Regions from separate parts of the Homo sapiens genome. Here all the other regions are linked to region 1. The links are contacts of gene promoters, found by promoter capture Hi-C in blood cells and fetal thymus (Javierre and others, 2016). All regions are on one chromosome and are shown on one strand. Each heading gives the region's core, a stretch centred on a gene start or on the middle of the fragment in contact. The rest is flanking DNA. Distances are from core to core; before and after follow the strand shown. Region 1 holds the start of SPRY1 (sprouty RTK signaling antagonist 1). Region 2 has its middle 22 kb from the start of LINC01091. Region 3 has its middle 49 kb from the start of LINC01091. Region 4 has its middle 56 kb from the start of LINC02435. Region 5 has its middle 30 kb from the start of LINC02435. Region 6 overlaps LOC105377405 (a long non-coding RNA gene).

Region 1 (2,861 bases), core at 95-2,594:
GTGGCGGAGTCGAGTGCGTGACGGGCCAGCTGACGGCACGGTGTGCTCAGAGAACTCGGGTTCTAGTCGCTCCTCGCAAGGAACGAAGGAAGGGATGGCGGCTTCCTGACGAGCGAAAAATCCACGTCACGGGCGTTCGAGACTCCGCAGCGCCCGGGTCGGGGCCCGAACCGCCGTCGGCGGGTGGGTCACGGAGCCGCGCAGTACCCCGGCGAAACCTCGGAGCACGCGCCTGCCAGGCAGAGGCTGCCGCGGCCGGGAGGGGGAGGGGGATTTTTTTACCCTTTTCTTTTTTTTTTTTTTTTTAGCGGGGAGGAGTGAAGAGAGTGAGGTTTGGGGATCCTTCTCGGAGAGAGAAAGGCGGGCGTCGTCCCTTGTGCCCCGCGCAGGCCGACGCGCTTAGCCGATTCCGCACGTTGGGCAAGTGGGGGCACAGCGTCCCCGGGCACTCCGGTCCCGGCAGGTCAGCCTCTCCCGGGCAGCGCTCACACCCAGTCCTCCGAGCCTGGGGTTCCACGGCCGAAATGCCTGCGACAGAGAATTAGAGATAGAAGCTCGTGAATGTCCCTTTCTTCGAAGGGCTGGGACCCCGGGCGGGCCGCTGGCCAGCTCGCCCGCAGCCCGTTGCCATGTGCTCCCTGTTGCTGCTCCCGGTGATTGACAGGCCGGCGCACAGTCGGCGTGTCAGCCGCGAACCAAAGTAACATGCAGTCCTGCACGTTTTTGCCGAGGTGCTTTTGCCCCCTGGAATGCCTAGGAGTTCAAACAACGTTCAAGCAACGCCTCTGCGCGTTAGGAATCAATACACAGAGACGGGAAATTCAGGTTTTAAACCAATGCTTCACTCGGGATTCGGTCGCCAACAATGCCTAAACAAACACGCATTTGGTCCACACACCGAGTGCTAGCCCCTCTTCGCATAAAGGCATTAACGGCTCTGTGTTTCACAAATTCGATCGTTTCAGACTTTAAACGTCTACTGTTCGGTTAAGGAAAGGTGAAAGGGACCCTGCTTTTTCTTTTAGCGGTAGCATTTACTTTAAGAGCATTAGTTTTAGCAGTGGGAATGCTACCGGTGTTTTGAAATGCAACCAGTAACCTTAGCTGGAAAGCAAGTTCAAATAAATAAATGTTCAGTTCCTTGCAAAAGTCAACATTTCTCACCTTATCTTTCCTAAAATGTCTACGGAAGGAAACGGTACTTACCTAATGCAAAGATTGCAAATTGCTTTTCAGGCACATTTAACAGCGACTGTAGCTGTTCCTTATCCAGGGCAGGGAACTGTGCTGATAATCACTCTGCAAAGCACGCAGTGGTTTGCAGAGCGGTCTCACTCCGGCTACGCAGAATTTCAGCTCCTTGCCTCCACCTCCACCTCCACTCCAGGACACGCCTCCGGTGATATCATGTGTCAATCACTCGGGCTGCCCGAAAACCTGGAACAGGATTTCCTTAACTATCGTTTCCTCTTTCGTTTATGTGTACCAACTTGGAAATGTTGCCCTACAGACTCGTGTAATAAACATCCTCTTAAAACTTCGGGAGTGCCTCTAAAAATTCTGCAAATGCAGTTTGTCATAGAGGAATACATTCGGATTTAGTTAGCAATCTTCAGTTGTCGATCTCAATTAAAAGGATTGGTGGACTCTACTCTTAAGTTGAATTAGAAAAGAATTGTGAAGAATAAAAGAAAATGAAAAAAGTTGTATGCCAAGCCATCACTTCTGACCAACTAGAGGGAAAACGTATATTGACACAAAAAGATGATTATATAACATTACAGTTCCTATTTACAACAAAGTTCAGAATATGTGAAACCTAAAGTTCAAAAGGTGGCACTCCTTACTGCAAATGTAATATAAGCATATGTAATAAAGGTGAAATTTTCTGCTGTGGGTTTTTTAAATAATTGCTTTACCTTGGCTTGTTATATGATTTCCCAAAAATCAAGCACATGGAGAAAAAACCAAATTCTTTCAATTTTGTAATATAGTTGTATAATTTTGCAAAAAATACAAACCCGTATATTTTTTAATTAGCTAAAAGTCAATTAATTAGAATAGAAAAAATTTATCAAGAAGTTTTATAATTCTTAGTAATAGCTGATATGACTGGAAAAAAAACACTTTAAGTAGGAAACTTGATTTCTACTTTCTTACAAACTATGGGATTTTAGGCATTTATTATCAAAGTTGTGCCTTTTCATGCTGCAGTGAGGATAACTTTTTGTGGAATTGAAGGTTCCGTAGAAACTTTTAAAAGCCACCTAAAGACCAAAAACTTAGTGGAAAGGAAATATTTTTCCAGGTACTATATATCAGGAGTAGCTTAAAGTCTGGCAAAACAAAGCAAACAATAACAAAACTCTAGAATCTAAATCATATAAACATATAAGTATGGAAATTTTTAGTTCAAAGTACATTTTTAGTCTCATTTACAATAGCAAGTGGTTCTGTTGAAACTATAAATATATACATACATAACACACACGCACACACACAGGACTTTCAAATGTCTGAGCACTTTCAAAAATTAAAGTTGTGTTTGGAATTGCCTCTGAAGAACACAGAGCATTGTTAAGAACATGAATAACAATAAAAAAGCATCATTAGAAAATAGCATAGAATAAGAATCAAGCCAAAAAGCTACATATTCACTCTTAATATTATGAATTGTATTAAAATAGGCTATTTAAAAGAATAAAATTGATTTCATTGTATTTTTTTCATAGATCTCATTAGATTTGGGGATGTAATGAAATTTTACTAGTGATGGATAGGTTTCTTGTGAATGTATTTGGAATAGACAAATCAAAAATAGACTATCCTATCAGAGTATCTTATTTGGTTCTTCAAAACTA
Region 2 (2,861 bases), core at 154-2,653, 230 kb before region 1:
AACCCATTACATACAAACACATAGTATCATTTATTCCATAATGGTGGTTTGGTTTTGTTCATGGGATTGAACTAGATAAAGAACAGACAAATTTTTGTAATGTGATTAGGTTACTTTTAGAATAAGATTAAAACCACATTTAAATTAAATTTAACTTTTTAAAAAGTGAGATCTGTGGTTTGATATATGGAATTATTCTTAATAGACCCCCAAACGTTTATTGCCAAGACCCAAATCTATTTCGCCAGAACCCTGCCCCTTTTTCAGAGGCATATGAATAGAATAGGATAAGGATATTCACATATTTGCAAATTTAACGTCATATAAAGATAAATATAATGCAATGTGAAAAGAAAGGGGATGTTTATATTACCTTAGAACTCAAAACAAATTCTTCCTTCTGACCTTAGTGGTAATATTTAATGATAAAAATAACATCATTTAAATAATGTTTAATATAGCCAGGCATTGTTTTAAGCACTTTATTTATGGTAACTCATCTAACTCTCACAGCCCTTTGTGGTATGAAATATTGCTGTCTCTATATTAAAGCTGGCAAAACTAAGACACAGAGAAGTTAAGTAACTTGTCTAAGATCACACAGCCAGCAAGTAGTGAAGCCAAGATTTAAACCCAGAATTTCTGCTCCAGAGTCCATGCTTTTAGGCACTATGCCACACTCAGGTAATAGTTCCAATGACTTCATTCACTCACAAGTTGAGAATCAAATATCTGTTTCTCACTGCCATGTGCACCCCTCCTCATGCAGGCCAGGGAGCCATGGACTTTCTATCACCTCATTAAAACAAAAGTAGCTGGGTGCAGTGTCCCATATCTGTAATCCCAGCACAATGGGAGGCTGAGGCAGGATAACAGCTTGAGCCCAGGAGTTCAAGACCAGCCTGGGCAACATGGTGAAACTCTGTCTTCACAAAAAATACAAAAAAATTAGCTGGGCATGGTGGTGTGTGCCTGTAGTTCCAGCTACTCAAGAGGCTGAGGTGGGAGGATCGCTTGAGCCCAGGAGGTCAAGACTGCAGTGAGCTGAAATCATGCCACTGCACTCCAGCCCATGCAACAGAATGAGACAAAAAAAAGTAGTTGAGCCAAAGAGAGGCATGTTAGCCGCCATTATTGCTATTACTATATTATTATATTATATTATCACTTACATCTGAGCCAAATTCCCACTCAGTCCTTGGTAACTAAACCTCCCCTCCATGAATAATGAATCATTCTCATAGTCTCACACTCAGTGGGCTTCAGTTACCTTTGAAGACAGATCAGTTCAGGTGATGCAATATTGGTTTGTAGGGAAGCAAACTAATGATTTCTAACCTAGTCATGCAACAGATGCTTTACATGTGGTGCTTTTAAAAGAACAAGTAAGGGTCTTCTTTCTGCTAAGTTAGTTTTTTGAATACTTGAAGTTCAGTCTTTTAAAGAGAACCATTTTGGGGATAGGGAAGGGGACATATTTCTAACTGATAATAAACAGAACACTGTCCTGTTAGAGTATGTGGAGAATAGTAGAATCTTATTTTACTGTTGAGGTCATTTTAAGACAGCAATCATAGCACCTTGCTACTTCTTGGATCAGAGAGACATGTAGAGTTTTTTGGCCCTGTATATATGGTCTTAGGTAGCTGTGCTTTTTGAGTTCCCACACTTATCTTTTTAATGATAGTCTTCTGGTGTCCTCAATGGAGTTCATCAGTTGTCACATCTGTTGACGTTCTTAATGCCCTTTGTCTAGCAATCATCCCTCTCCTAATTTGTGGCTTCTAATTTGCTACAGTTTGGAAAACCACTCATGCCATAAGTATGAATCTATAAATGTACTTATGCATAAATTTACAAATGCATATACACTTATCCCTTTCCACAAAGGATGTATGGCAGCTTTTTAAAATTATGCAATTACAAAAAATAATTTTTGAAGGAATTTGAACAAAAGGAAAATAAGAATATATTAAAGAATAAGAAAAATAATAAAGCCAAGGTAGGTAACACACGCAGACTGCATGCTCTGTACCTCTCTGTAATTGCTAGTGCTAGGTAGCAAACAGCTCTGGATTTCCTGGAAGCCAAAGCAAAGATAAAAAGGCAATCCATTAGTTACAGGTTCACAATGCTCAGAAAATAAAAACAAACCAGCTATTCAGAAAAAGTACTACCACTCTTAACATTAAGACCTAAGAGAATTTTTTCATCATATTCATAAAGAAGGGTAATATAGGATAGAATAATGTCTTCAATGGCATTCTGACAATAGCTAATGTGATACATTCCAAATAGTGCTTGTTATGAAATCGCTTTAATATAAGCCAAAAGCAAAAACCCAAGCAAATAACATCTTTAAAAAGCAAGCATAGTAAGGAACTAAGAGACTTTTAGTAAGTAAAATGCACAAACTTCACTATATGGGCTGTGTAGTCACTATTTTCCTTGATGGAAGGCTGTTGGCATATACTTCCTAATTGGTGGCCATATTCCAGATATGTAGGTTTATAAACATGTATACATATTTTATGGATAAGTCTATTTCTTTTAGTTACTATCCATTTAGAAAACATTAAATACTCCTAGCCACTAGATTTAGTTAGTCCTCAATTCCAGTCTCGTTGCTATCTTCATTTTATGAGAAGGGACAAAGAAGTTATCATTTGAACTCTTGTTATAATCGTCAGATTCCAAACCTTCAATAAAAAGATGACTGCCAGTTTACAAAGAGAATTTCTAAATTCGTAAATTAGTGAAGTGAATTGAAGAGAAGACATACTCTCATTCACACGGTAACTAGGAGATATTCTTTCATTGTGAGCCCTTCTCTGAAGTGAATTTAATCAAAGTTTATTCAA
Region 3 (2,861 bases), core at 271-2,770, 200 kb before region 1:
GTGAAAGCCTATTGTTTAGTGTGGTCACTTTTATCAATTAGCTAGTCCTTCTGGATGACTTCTACATCAGCACTTACTGCTTCACTTTGCACTTTTATGTTAGGGAGAGGGCTTCTTCCCTAAAACCTCAGGAACCAACCTCTGCTAGCTTCCAATTTTTCTTCTACAGCTTCCTCACCTCTCTCAGACCTTCATAAAATGGAAGCGAGTTAGAATCTTGCTCTGGGGCTTTGGCTTGTGGGAATGCTGTGGCTGGTTTGATCTTTTATCCAGACCACTTAAACTTTCTCCATATCAACATAAGGCTGTTGCACTTTCTTTTCCTTTCTTTTCTTTTTAAATAGAGACAGGGTCTCACTATGTTGCCCAGGCTGGTCTCAAACTCCCAGGCTCAAGTGATCCTCCTGCCTTGGCCTCCCAAAGTGCTGGGATTAGAAGAGTGAGCCACCATGCCCGGCCTCTGTTGTGCTATCTTATCATTAATGTGTTCATTGGAATAGTACTTTTAATTTCTTCAAGAACTTTTCCTTTGCACTCACAACTTGGCTGTTTGGCACAAGAGGCCTACCTTTTGGCCTATCTTGACTTTAACATGCCTTCCTCACTAAGCTTATTCATTTCTAAATTTGATTCAAAGTGAGAGACTTGCAACTCTTCCTTTCACTTGAACACTTAGAAGCCATTGAAGGGTTATTCGTTGGCCCCATTTCAATATCGTGTGTCTGACGGAATAGGGAGGCCCCAGAGAGACGAGAAAACCATTGGTATGTGGAGCAGTCAGAACACACCATCTTGTATGGGGGCAGTTCATGGTGCCCCCACCAAAATTACAATAGTGACATCAAAGATCATGATTACAGATCACTATAACAGATATAATAATAATTGCAGCAAACCACCATGGCACATGTATACCTATGTAACAAATCTGCACGTTCAGCACATGTATCCCAGAATTTAAAGTAAAATTTAAAAATATATATAATAATAATGAAAAAGTTTGAAATATTGTGAAAATTACCACAGTGTGACACAGAGACACTAAGTGGGCACATGCTGTTGGGAAGAATAGGGCTGATAGACTTGCTCAATGCAAGGTTGCCACAAACCTTCAGTTTGCAGAAAACGCAGCACCTGTGAAGCACAATAAAACAAGGTGTGTCTCTAAAGCTCTAACACAGATCCTGGCTTGGGTAGATGGTTAGTGAATTATATCAGCTTGATTCATTCATTCTACAATTCTGACAGAGCACTACTATCTACCAGTCAGTATCAGCTTTTCTGAAAGATTAGGGAAAGATCATTAACTTTTAGTGAGTGTTTTTTTCTTTTTTCACATCATAATGGTCCTCAAGATTCAGAATCAGCCGCAGTTGAAATTTAACAAGGACAGTGAACCGACTTCTTCTCCAAAGAGGCAGTTGTATAAAGAGCAGCATTGATAAAAGTCCTGACCGTCTCATTCTCCACAAGGATTTCTACATAGGTCTAATTTTCATTTTCACAATAAGCCTCAGTATTCACCACATGCAAGTATTTAACTTCGAAACCTCAAAATAATCAATCTCTATCATATTATTGTTCTTAAGCAGCCAGAAATCTCTTCAGAGACTTTATTAGAAATGTTGGTAATCCTTCAAAATGCCAATTGGCGTCTTTTTCAAACTGTTCTGTAACATCATCTCTATCATCATCCTCCACAGATACCTCCAGAAGGATTCTAGTCAATAAGTTACTTAAAGTGTTCACCACACATGTGGGATTAGATACAGATGAGTGGTTGTAATATATTTCAGAGGTCACTGTAAATGCAGAAAGGAAATAGCTGCATATTCTATTTCCTCAAGACAAAATTTGTTTATAGGAATTATTGATTAAAAACATTAAAACAATTTCTGTGTTCACAGAGTACCTTCCTTTCAGTGATTGCAGTCACCAATAAAATTTGTGGTTAAAATATGTCTTAAAATATGTACCACATTTAGATTTGAAATAAGCAGAGAAGGAAATGTTGAATTGTTTTGAGAGGAGAGAAAAAGAAAAAAAAAACAGTAAAACGGAAGCATAGATGGATTTCTTACCTTAACTGCCAAAAATGAGACTGAGTCTCAAAATCTTTTTCTTTCTATAATTTACCAAAGTGAAGGGAGTCAGAGAAATTAGGACTCAATTATCCAGATTCCTAAACAATGGGTCCTGCAGTCACCAGTTAATTGTTTAAGCCTCCACTTCCTTTTGTCTGTGTTTTCTGGGGTGGGAGGGAGGAAAAGAGAAAGGAAACACATAGAAAACAGATGTGGAAAGAAATATTTATCAACAAAAAGTCTTGGTAAACCACGATTTTTATATCGCCCTTGCACTATATTTTCCAAGTTTCCTAGTTTTCTCAAACCCCAAAGAATTTGTAGCTAGAGAGGAAAACCAAAGCTTTTTATATGTTTTCCACAGGATTAGGAAGGCATATTTGGAGAATTCTGATGCTTTTCCCTTAACCTAATATTAATACATGTTTTTGACTCAAGGAATTTCTGTCAGAGAATGGGAGAAATAAAAGGTTCATTTAGCTGGTTTGTTCTGTCCTTGGACTTCCAGGCAGAATAAACAGCACCTTGTGACAAAGGCGGGCCACACGCTGGCTGAGCTCCAGGCAGACACTGGGGGATGCAGTCTGTTTATCAGACAGCACATTGTCTTAACCAGGATGTGGTTGGCTTTTGTAACAAGAAGTATGCAAATAAGTTTCCCAGAGACCCAACACCCTGTTCCCCACCACACTTGTTCCTTCAGTAGACACATGCTAATGGTGGCTGCCCTGAGAACAGAAGAGAGAGCCACAGAAAGAGGAGAGGAAGAGGAAGTGT
Region 4 (2,861 bases), core at 215-2,714, 180 kb before region 1:
TTTGGAAAAGCTTCTGACCCCTGGGACTTTACTATACTGAACAACTAGACAGTACCCAAAAATCTGTCAACTACGACAATAACTGGCTGTCTTTTATGTACAGTTCTCATCACATAAGCTCAATCTAAATGGTGCCAAAACAATCCATCATTTTGTTTTAGTTGGTATTTTAATGCAAAACAGGTCTCCTGAAAAATCTATCCAAAAGTCGTATTTTCCAGACCTTTGACAGAGACTTCTTAATTGTTTCATTTTGTTTTTATTTCTTTTGAAACCTTGGTAAAGCAATTGCAAGCACATATTATCTTGTATCTTTTATCTTCACAAGGGCTTTAAAAAATTTAAAATTTCTTGGCTTTATAAAATGTGAGCAAAGAATCCATAAGCAAGAAAAAGTAAAGTTAGATTTTAAACCATCTATTACTCAAAGAGAAGTTGCCATATATTGCCCAAGACAGATTTATTTTCCAAAGCTTTCATTGGCTCCAATCATTTAAAAGTATGCTAGCACTGAGTGGTTGACTCAATACATGAAGTACTACAAGCTCACAAAAGAAACCCTCAAACAGAGGCTACATGCAAAGGGCTATCCTCTGAGGTTAACTAACCAAAATCCACAGAAGATGGTTGGAATTAACCATCAACTGCTGAGCCACTCAACTGCTGAGGAGGCAAAGAGAGTCCCAGCAAGAACTACTGTGATTTTTATGTCCATAAAACTTCCCAATAATGACAATATAACAACCACTGCCCTCCTCATAAATGAGTTTTTCTTTTTTTCTCTCTCTCTGTGTTTCTCTGTCTCTCTCACTCTCATTGTAGCTGCTACAGGCAAAAGATTTAAAGGTGCTAGTTTACAAGACAATTTTCCAATAGCAATCCGTTATGCAGTGTGATTTGGAAATAATTTGCCACCAACGTGAAGAGTTTTGTCTATATTATCAAGAAAAAGGCCACCTAAAACGAGACAATCTACCCAGTGCTTACTGTGTATAGTGCCTTACAAAGAAGATCAGACAAGACAAGGCAAAGAAGTCGACCTGTGTTGAGCACTTGGTACCAGGTATTCAGCCAAAAATGCTTTCACTAATTAGAAGAGTTTTGTCTATATTATCAAGAAACAGGCCACCTAAAATGAGACAATCTACCCAGTGCTTACTGTGTATAGTGCCTTACAAAGAAGATCAGACAAGACAAGGCAAAGAAGTCAACCTGTGTTGAGCACCTGGTACCAGGTATTCAGCCAAAAATGCTTTCACTTCTACCGTAATTACTCAATCCCCAGGAAACCTTGAGTTAGTTATTCATCTGTTTACAGATTAAGAAACAGGGTCAGAGTAATTAAGCAATTCTCCCAGATCACACACATGCACACAGATTATGGTCAAATTAAGCCACAATTTGAACCCAGGACTCTCTACCCCAAAGCCCATACCTCTTCCAGTACACTGTGACTGCCTGAGACACCGCTCTTGCCTTCAGGGAATTTACTGCTTGCTACATCTGCATTTTTAGAGAAGCGTAACATATAAAGCACGTTGAAATGAAATCATTTGGTGCTATAATGATGTAAGCAGATGAACCTTAAGTATAGAAGAGAGAGGATGAACCTTAAATATAAGAGAGAGAGAAAAAAGAGAAAAGAAATGTAGTCGTGTTTTGCTGACACTGTCAATGAAAGGAACCCTCTTATACCTCCCTTGGGGCTAATTAAAACAGATTGCCTGTTTGGAAAGTATTTCTTTTTAGTGGAGAAAAATGATTCCAGAGAATAGCACAAATAAAAGAAAATATACTTTTAAGACCATCTATTGAAACTTACTCAAATCATATTTACTATAGTTCTATTCTAAGTCAGTTCCTCAAATAGAAATGCCCTAGCCAGCTAACCCAAACATTGCATTCATAAAGAGGTAGATTTTGCATAGTAAATTCATACATTGGCTTTTCTTAAAGTAACATTTAGTCTCTTAAAAAATATTTAAGATTCATATGCCCCTGTCCCATTATCTCTGGAGGAAATAATAAAACCAAATATCCGTATCTGCCCAATGATGACCTTCACCAAAGCACAGCACAGACTCAAAACTGCAGCTTTGCTGCTGCAAAGCACAGAAGTCTAAGCACCACCACCAGACAGAAGGCCAGCCTCAACTTCCTTGCTTCCCTTGGCATTGTCAAGGTACCCTGTGGAATCTAATGCTCTTTCTGTTTGCAGGGCCACATTCATGCACAAAGGGACAAAAATCACCTTCTAACAAACATCCTAAGAAACCTGAGGAGTGTGTATGACTTAAAACACTCTCGGTGAGGGAGTAAATGCTAGGAGACTTTGGATTGTGATCTAAATCAGGATACTCTAATTTTCTTGTCCAATAGAGTGCATTTTCTCATCCCCTTATAACAATGTTACTTAACTGTATTCACTCTTAATTTCACACTCAAGGAAGCTTGGATCCATTAATGACAAGGACAGCTGCTAAATGTATTTTAAATTATAACATATCTTCAAATGGTTAACTATGGGCTATTTCATATGATTCAACCTCCACATTTCATATGGCTAATAGCCAATAGTTAACCATTTTTTAACATATGAAAATAGCAATTTCATATGTATCAAGCTAATAAACAAACAATTCCAAGGTTTTCTGGTATATTCAGATGTCTTTAAGCAGGACTCTTTCTCTCTTTAGGGGTTTCGATGTTTTCCTGAAAGATGTCTACAGGTTCCTTCCCAACCCTATGTCTATACGTCCCATGTCAATCCTGTAATTGCCTTGGGAAGTTTTGTGTCGGAGAAACTATAAAGCAGAAAAATGCAGCCTTCTTTCAGTGGATAACTCCAAATCCATAAGAAA
Region 5 (2,861 bases), core at 254-2,753, 160 kb before region 1:
AGACAAGGCCTTGACTCTCTACAGGTTCAGTGGAGAGGTGGAAGGAGAAGATTATTTTGGTTTATGTTGTTAAATGCTAAAATTCTATTTAAAAAATACAATACCCAAGCAAGCATTTTAAAATTTGAATTATGCTGACAGGATATTCAAATGAAAGTACTCTGAAATTCAGATGAATCCAAGCTCCTTTCAGGAAAGAAGCTTCATTCAAGTAATTTAGGTGGTTGGCTGCCGAAGCCACACAACCAAATCATCATGATCTACATAGATCTAAAACCACCCTATGTACACTACTAACAACAGGTTATTCATTTGTAATCATCTACTTCTTCAATTTCTTACTTACATTACTGACCCAAAACATGAACTTCTGTTCTAAGACACAGAGAAACAGAAAGCTAGAAGAGCTCAGGTTGCAAAGAAGGCCTCCATTTCATTTCAGCAATCCAAGGAGCCACTGAACTTCAGTTGTGTCAAATCACATGGAAAACTAGAACCATGTGGGTGATGACTAGCTACAAGTGAGGGGAAAATTCAGAATGCTTCCAAGTCAAACTTTCCAATTCCCATCTCCACTCGTGGGGGACCATAGCCATCCTTCTGATAACAATAGGGGGAAAAACTGCATTTATAAGGCAACTTAAAACCTTATAGAGAAGGCAATACTAAGATCCTCAGAATAAAAGGAAAAGGGATGAAAATTTGGAGAAAAAAAATGTCTAGGAGATGCAGCATGTGACTAACAGGATTCCCAGAAAGAGAGAAAAGACGATATCATGGAAGAAATTATCAAAGAAATAATGTGAGAAAATTCCCCATCAGGCCAGGCACACTGGCTCATGCCTGTAATCCCAGCACTCTGGGAGGCCGAGGCAGGCGGATCACCTGAGGTCAGAAGTTCGAGACCAGCCTGGCCAACATGGTAAAACCCTGTCTCTACGAAAAATACAAAAATTTGCTGGATATGGTGGCACACGCCTATAATCCCAGCTACTTGGGAGGCTGAGGCAGAATTGCTTGAACCCAGGAGGCAGAAGTTGCAGTGAGCCGAGATCACACCATTGCACTCCAGCCTGGGTGACAGAGCAAGACTCTGTCTCAAAAAAAAAAAAAAAAAAAAAGAAAGTTCCCCATACCTAAGAAATATGAGTGAGGGTCCATTAGGTGGAAAGTATAATGAATAATAAAAGATTTACAGCAAAGCACTTCCATGTCAAATTGAGATGGTCCTGAAGCTTCTGAAAGAGAAAAAAGGCCACAAATAAAGGACAAGTAGTCAGATTGCTATCCCACCCCTCAGCAGCAATACCTGGAGCCATCAGGCAAGTGAACAACATCAGGCAAGCAAAATTTGAATGCCTTCAAAAATCTGAAGGAAAAGGCTATTCCAACCTACATTGGATCTATAGTGTTAGTATCTAGGATCTATAGTGTTATTATCTAGGCATACTAGTAACTAACACTATACATTACACACAGACTGGGCAGAGACTACTCTCTCTTCTCTTGCTGAACATGTCTTTTTTGAGGCCTTTCCTTGGCATTATCTGACCCAGATTTTCTCACTTAAGGAGCTGCTTTTACCTAGGCAAGATACACTAGAAGATTTCTCCATAATGCCCCATGTTCATGGACTTAAAGTCTGCTGCCAGAGCTCAAGAGCCCTTGCCTTAATTCTTAGTCTCTTGACCACCATTACTATTAACCTTGCTATGTGTCCCCAAGCCCCATCCAATTTCACCCTCACTTCCATATTTCCATTATAAGCTTTTCTCCTGGACCTAGGGATGCTGACTATGACTCTCTACTTACATCCCTCTTTAATACATGGGGCAGCCCTCACTTAGTCTGTTGCACTCAAACAATGGGTCCGAGACAGGAAAGATCAAGTGGAGCCAGGTTGAGGCTCAGAGCAAAAAGGAAATAAGGGATGCTACTAAGAAATGCCTCTGGACTACAATTGAAGAGCTTTCTGCTTTGTTCACATTTGAGCTCATTGGGGTGGAAGAACACATAGGTATTCTGGGCAAAAGTCCTTTTAAGAAATAGGCATTTTCCTGGAACATCATCTTTGTCATGACTCTCAGGATCCTTAAGCCCAATGGTGGGAAAGAAGTTCTCTGGAGTTTGGGTCCAGCAGAGAAGAGAAAAGGTAAACCTATTGCCTTACTCCATTATGATTAACAGAGTCCCCTAAGTAACAACTTATGAAGCCCAATAAAGCATCTGAGACATTAAGATTAAAAAAAGGTCAACTTTATATTTACTTAGAAATGTACAATACAAATTTCCCCAAGCTCCAGTCCTGGTGCAAATAAACTGCAGTTTGTTGGACAAACTCAACATGTCCAAAACCTAATTCATTACCTTCTTCCCTAAAACTCCAACGTCCTTACTTTAGTCAATGGCATCACCAGCATCCTCTTCACATGGTTCCCAAGCTAGATGTGATTTTTGTATCCTCCCACTCCCTCACGCCAGCTGGCAAATCCCATCACACCTGGAGAATCCTGTCGGCCCTCCTCTGCATTGGCTTTCCCTTCTGTAACCTACCCATGTTCCCATGGTCACTCCATTTCAGGCCCTCATTCCCTCCAGGTAGACCATAGTTTTCCATCTACTGCCACTGAAGAAATGAATCCAAAGCTGAGTTCCAGTCATTTCTCACCTGTATGGGAGACCCCAGAACAGAACTCTTACTTTCAACTGAGTCACACTGCTGCTCATAATAAAGTCTATATTGGCCAGGCGTGGTGGCTCATAATCCCGGCACTTTGGGAGGCCGAGGCGGGTGGATCACCTGAGGTCAGGAGTTCTAGACCAGGCTGGCCAACATGGTGAAACCTCGTCTCTACTAAAAA
Region 6 (2,861 bases), core at 110-2,609, 140 kb before region 1:
ACAGATTAAAGGAGTCTTGCTTAGACTCCAGGGTAATTGACAGTTTTTCTGCCTTATATGTGGAATGATTATAACAAGTTGTAATTCAGATAATGAACTTCTTAATGCAGGAAGTTCTTCATTCAGGAAATAGAAGTTGGTGAAATTGAAACAAATTTATTAAGTAAATAAAGGGAAAAGCACAAAATACTTAGTGGCTAGAGTATTATCAATTGTAAAGAAGATTTGGAATAGAACAGTTAGGGAGCTATAATTCTTCAGTTTTTATACTGTTCTACCACTCTAGTATGTTGCTATAATTCTCTGAATTAATTTTTTTAAAAATACAACAGCTGTCTGGAGAAACCAATTTGATCTCACTTTTATTTTATTTTTTAAATGCATTTGATTATGTATATTTGAGGTTTACAACATAGTGTTATGGGATACATATAGTAGTAAAATGGTTACTATAGTGAAGCAGACTAACATATCTATCATCTCACATAGTTACTTTTTTGTGACAAGAACAGCTAAAATCTACTTATTTAATAAAAATCTCCAATACAGTATAATTTTACTAACTTTATTACTCATGTTGTACATTGGCTCTCTAAACTGCTTTGTGCTGCTATTTTGATCGCTTGACCTACATTGCCCCCATTTCCTTTCCCTCCCACCCTGCTCCACATCCCCACCCCCATCCCACCCATGGTAACCACTGTTTTGTTCTCTGTATCTGTGTATTTGAGCTCTTTTTAAATATGTATATATTCTACATAAAGGTGAGATTATATAATATTTTTCTTTCTGTGTCTGGTTTCTTTCACTTAGCATAATGTCCTCCAGGTCATATTGTGGTAAATGGCAGAATCTCCTTTTTAAGGTTGAATAATATTCATATATATATATATACCATGTTTTCATTATCTGTTTATCCACTGATGAACATTTAGGTTGTTTCCATATCTTAGCTATTGTGAATAATGCTGCAATGAATGTGAGAGAGCAGATATCTTTACAAGGTAGTGACTTCATCTTCTTTGGGTGTATACCCAGAAGAGGGATTGCTGGGCCATATAATAATTCTATTTTTAATATCTTTAGGAACTTCCACACTGTTTTGCATAAGGGCTGTACCAGTCTACATTCCCACTAATAGTGTACTAGGGTTCCCATTTCTCTACCTCCTTGCCAACATTTGTTATGTCTTGTCTTTTTTATAATAACCATCCTTACAGGTGTGAGGTTGATATCACATAGCAGTTTTAATTTGCATTTCCCTGATGATTAGTAATATTGAACATGTTTTCATATTCCTCTTGGCCATTTTTATGTCTCTTTAGAGAAATGTCTGTTCAGGTCCTTTGCTTATGTTTTAATTGGGTTGTTTTTCTGCTATTGAGTTATAAGAGTGCTTTACAAATTTCTGATATTAACCCCTTATCAGATATGTGGTTTGCAATTGTTTTCCTAGTCCATAGATTGCCTTTTCATTTTATCAATTGTTTCCTTTGCTGTGCAAAAGATTTTTGGTTTGATGTAGTACCATTTATTTATTTTTGTTATTGTTGCCTGAGCTTTTGGTGTGATATCCAAAAATTCATTGCCAATACCAATGTTCAGGAGTTTTTCCCCTGTGTTTTCTTTCAGGAGTTTAATGGTTTCAGGTCTTAAATTTAGGTCTTTTATTCAGTTTGAATTTATTTTCATGTATGGTGTAAGATAAGGGTCCAATTTCACACTTTTGATGTAAAAAATCCAGTTTTACCAGCACTGTTTATTGAAGAAATTATTCTTTCCCCATTATGTCCTTTCTGTGCTCTTGTCAAAAGTCAGTTGATCACATGTGCTTAGGTTTATTTCTGTGCTCTCTATTCTGTTCCATTGGTCTATATTTCTGTTTTTATGCCAGTACCATACTGTTTTGATTACTATAGCTTTCTAATATAATTTTGATTCAGAAACTGTGATGCCTTCAACTTTATTTTTCTTTCTCAGCATTTCTTTTACTAGTCAGAGTTTTTTGTGATTCCATGTGAATTTTAGTATTTTTTTCTATTTCTGTGAAAAATGCCATTAGACTTTTGATGGGAATTGTGTTAAATCTGTATATTGCTATAGGTAATAAGGACATTTTAACAGATTAATTTTTCCCACCCATGAACACAGGATAATTTTCCATTTATTTGTGTCTTCTTCCATCTCTTTCATCATGGTTTTATAGTTTTCAGTATACAAGTCTTTCACTCCCTTGGTTAAATATATTCTTAGATGTTTAATTTTTTGCTATTATAAATATGATTGTTTTCTTAATTACTTTTTTGGTTAGGTCATTATTTGTGTATAAAAATGCTACTGATTTTTTTTTTCAGGTGGAGTCTTGCTGCATCACCAAGGCTGGAGTGCACTGGCACAATCTCGGCTCACTGCAACCTCCTCCTCCCAGGTTCAAACAATTCTGTCTCAGCCTCCCAAGTAGCTGGGACTACAGGTGCCTGCCACCACGCCTGGCTGATTTTTGTATTTTTAGTAGAGACAGGGTTTCACCTTGTTGGTCAGGCTGGTCTCAAACTCCTAACCTCAAGTGATCCACCCGCGTCGGCCTCCCAAAGTGCTGAGATTACAGGCGTGAGCCACCGTGCCCCACCAATGCTACTGATTTTTGTATCCTGCAACTTTACCAAATTCATTTTTTTGGTTCTAAATGTTTTTTGTGGATCTTTGAGGCCTTCTACATAAAGGATAATATCTCAAATAGGGATAATTTTGCTTCATCTTTCTGAATTTAGATGCCTTTTTTTCTTCTCTGATTGCCCTTGTTAGTACTTCTAATACTACATTGAATAGAAGTGGTGAGAGGGGGCATCCCTGTATTGTAC

What was found. The method cuts DNA at HindIII sites, captures the fragments that hold promoters and counts their contacts. A CHiCAGO score of 5 or more calls a contact.
Region 2: a fragment that was not itself captured here is called in contact with the fragment with the promoter of SPRY1 in region 1 in 8 of 17 cell types (M2 macrophages, megakaryocytes, naive B cells and 5 more); the score reaches 9.0 in M2 macrophages.
Region 3: a contact is called between a fragment that was not itself captured here and the fragment with the promoter of SPRY1 in region 1, in 8 of 17 cell types (megakaryocytes, total B cells, naive B cells and 5 more). The highest score is 9.1, in megakaryocytes.
Region 4: a fragment that was not itself captured here is called in contact with the fragment with the promoter of SPRY1 in region 1 in 6 of 17 cell types (naive B cells, M0 macrophages, total B cells and 3 more); the score reaches 9.7 in naive B cells.
Region 5: a contact is called between a fragment that was not itself captured here and the fragment with the promoter of SPRY1 in region 1, in 6 of 17 cell types (M0 macrophages, total B cells, naive B cells and 3 more). The highest score is 7.9, in M0 macrophages.
Region 6: a contact is called between a fragment that was not itself captured here and the fragment with the promoter of SPRY1 in region 1, in 4 of 17 cell types (naive B cells, M0 macrophages, M2 macrophages and 1 more). The highest score is 6.9, in naive B cells.

The regions. Positions count from the first base shown.
Region 1 is chr4:123,395,278-123,398,138 of GRCh38, reverse strand. SPRY1 (sprouty RTK signaling antagonist 1) reads right to left here and starts at 1,344. Exons shown (of 3, transcript NM_001258038.2): 1 at 1,207-1,344; 2 at 283-528. The HindIII fragment of the contact is 9,971 bases long and covers 1-2,861 here.
Region 2 is chr4:123,626,924-123,629,784 of GRCh38, reverse strand. No RefSeq gene overlaps it. Among named protein-coding and RNA genes, the nearest start is that of LINC01091, 22 kb to the left of the region's middle. The HindIII fragment of the contact is 3,329 bases long and covers 1-2,861 here.
Region 3 is chr4:123,600,007-123,602,867 of GRCh38, reverse strand. No RefSeq gene overlaps it. Among named protein-coding and RNA genes, the nearest start is that of LINC01091, 49 kb to the left of the region's middle. RefSeq lists enhancers at 1,927-2,572, 2,540-2,834. The HindIII fragment of the contact is 1,818 bases long and covers 612-2,429 here.
Region 4 is chr4:123,576,111-123,578,971 of GRCh38, reverse strand. No RefSeq gene overlaps it. Among named protein-coding and RNA genes, the nearest start is that of LINC02435, 56 kb to the right of the region's middle. The HindIII fragment of the contact is 1,977 bases long and covers 476-2,452 here.
Region 5 is chr4:123,550,469-123,553,329 of GRCh38, reverse strand. No RefSeq gene overlaps it. Among named protein-coding and RNA genes, the nearest start is that of LINC02435, 30 kb to the right of the region's middle. The HindIII fragment of the contact is 532 bases long and covers 1,238-1,769 here.
Region 6 is chr4:123,533,352-123,536,212 of GRCh38, reverse strand. It overlaps LOC105377405 (a long non-coding RNA gene), which reads left to right. Exons shown (of 4, transcript XR_939171.3): 4 at 2,355-2,861. Among named protein-coding and RNA genes, the nearest start is that of LINC02435, 13 kb to the right of the region's middle. The HindIII fragment of the contact is 3,042 bases long and covers 1-2,861 here.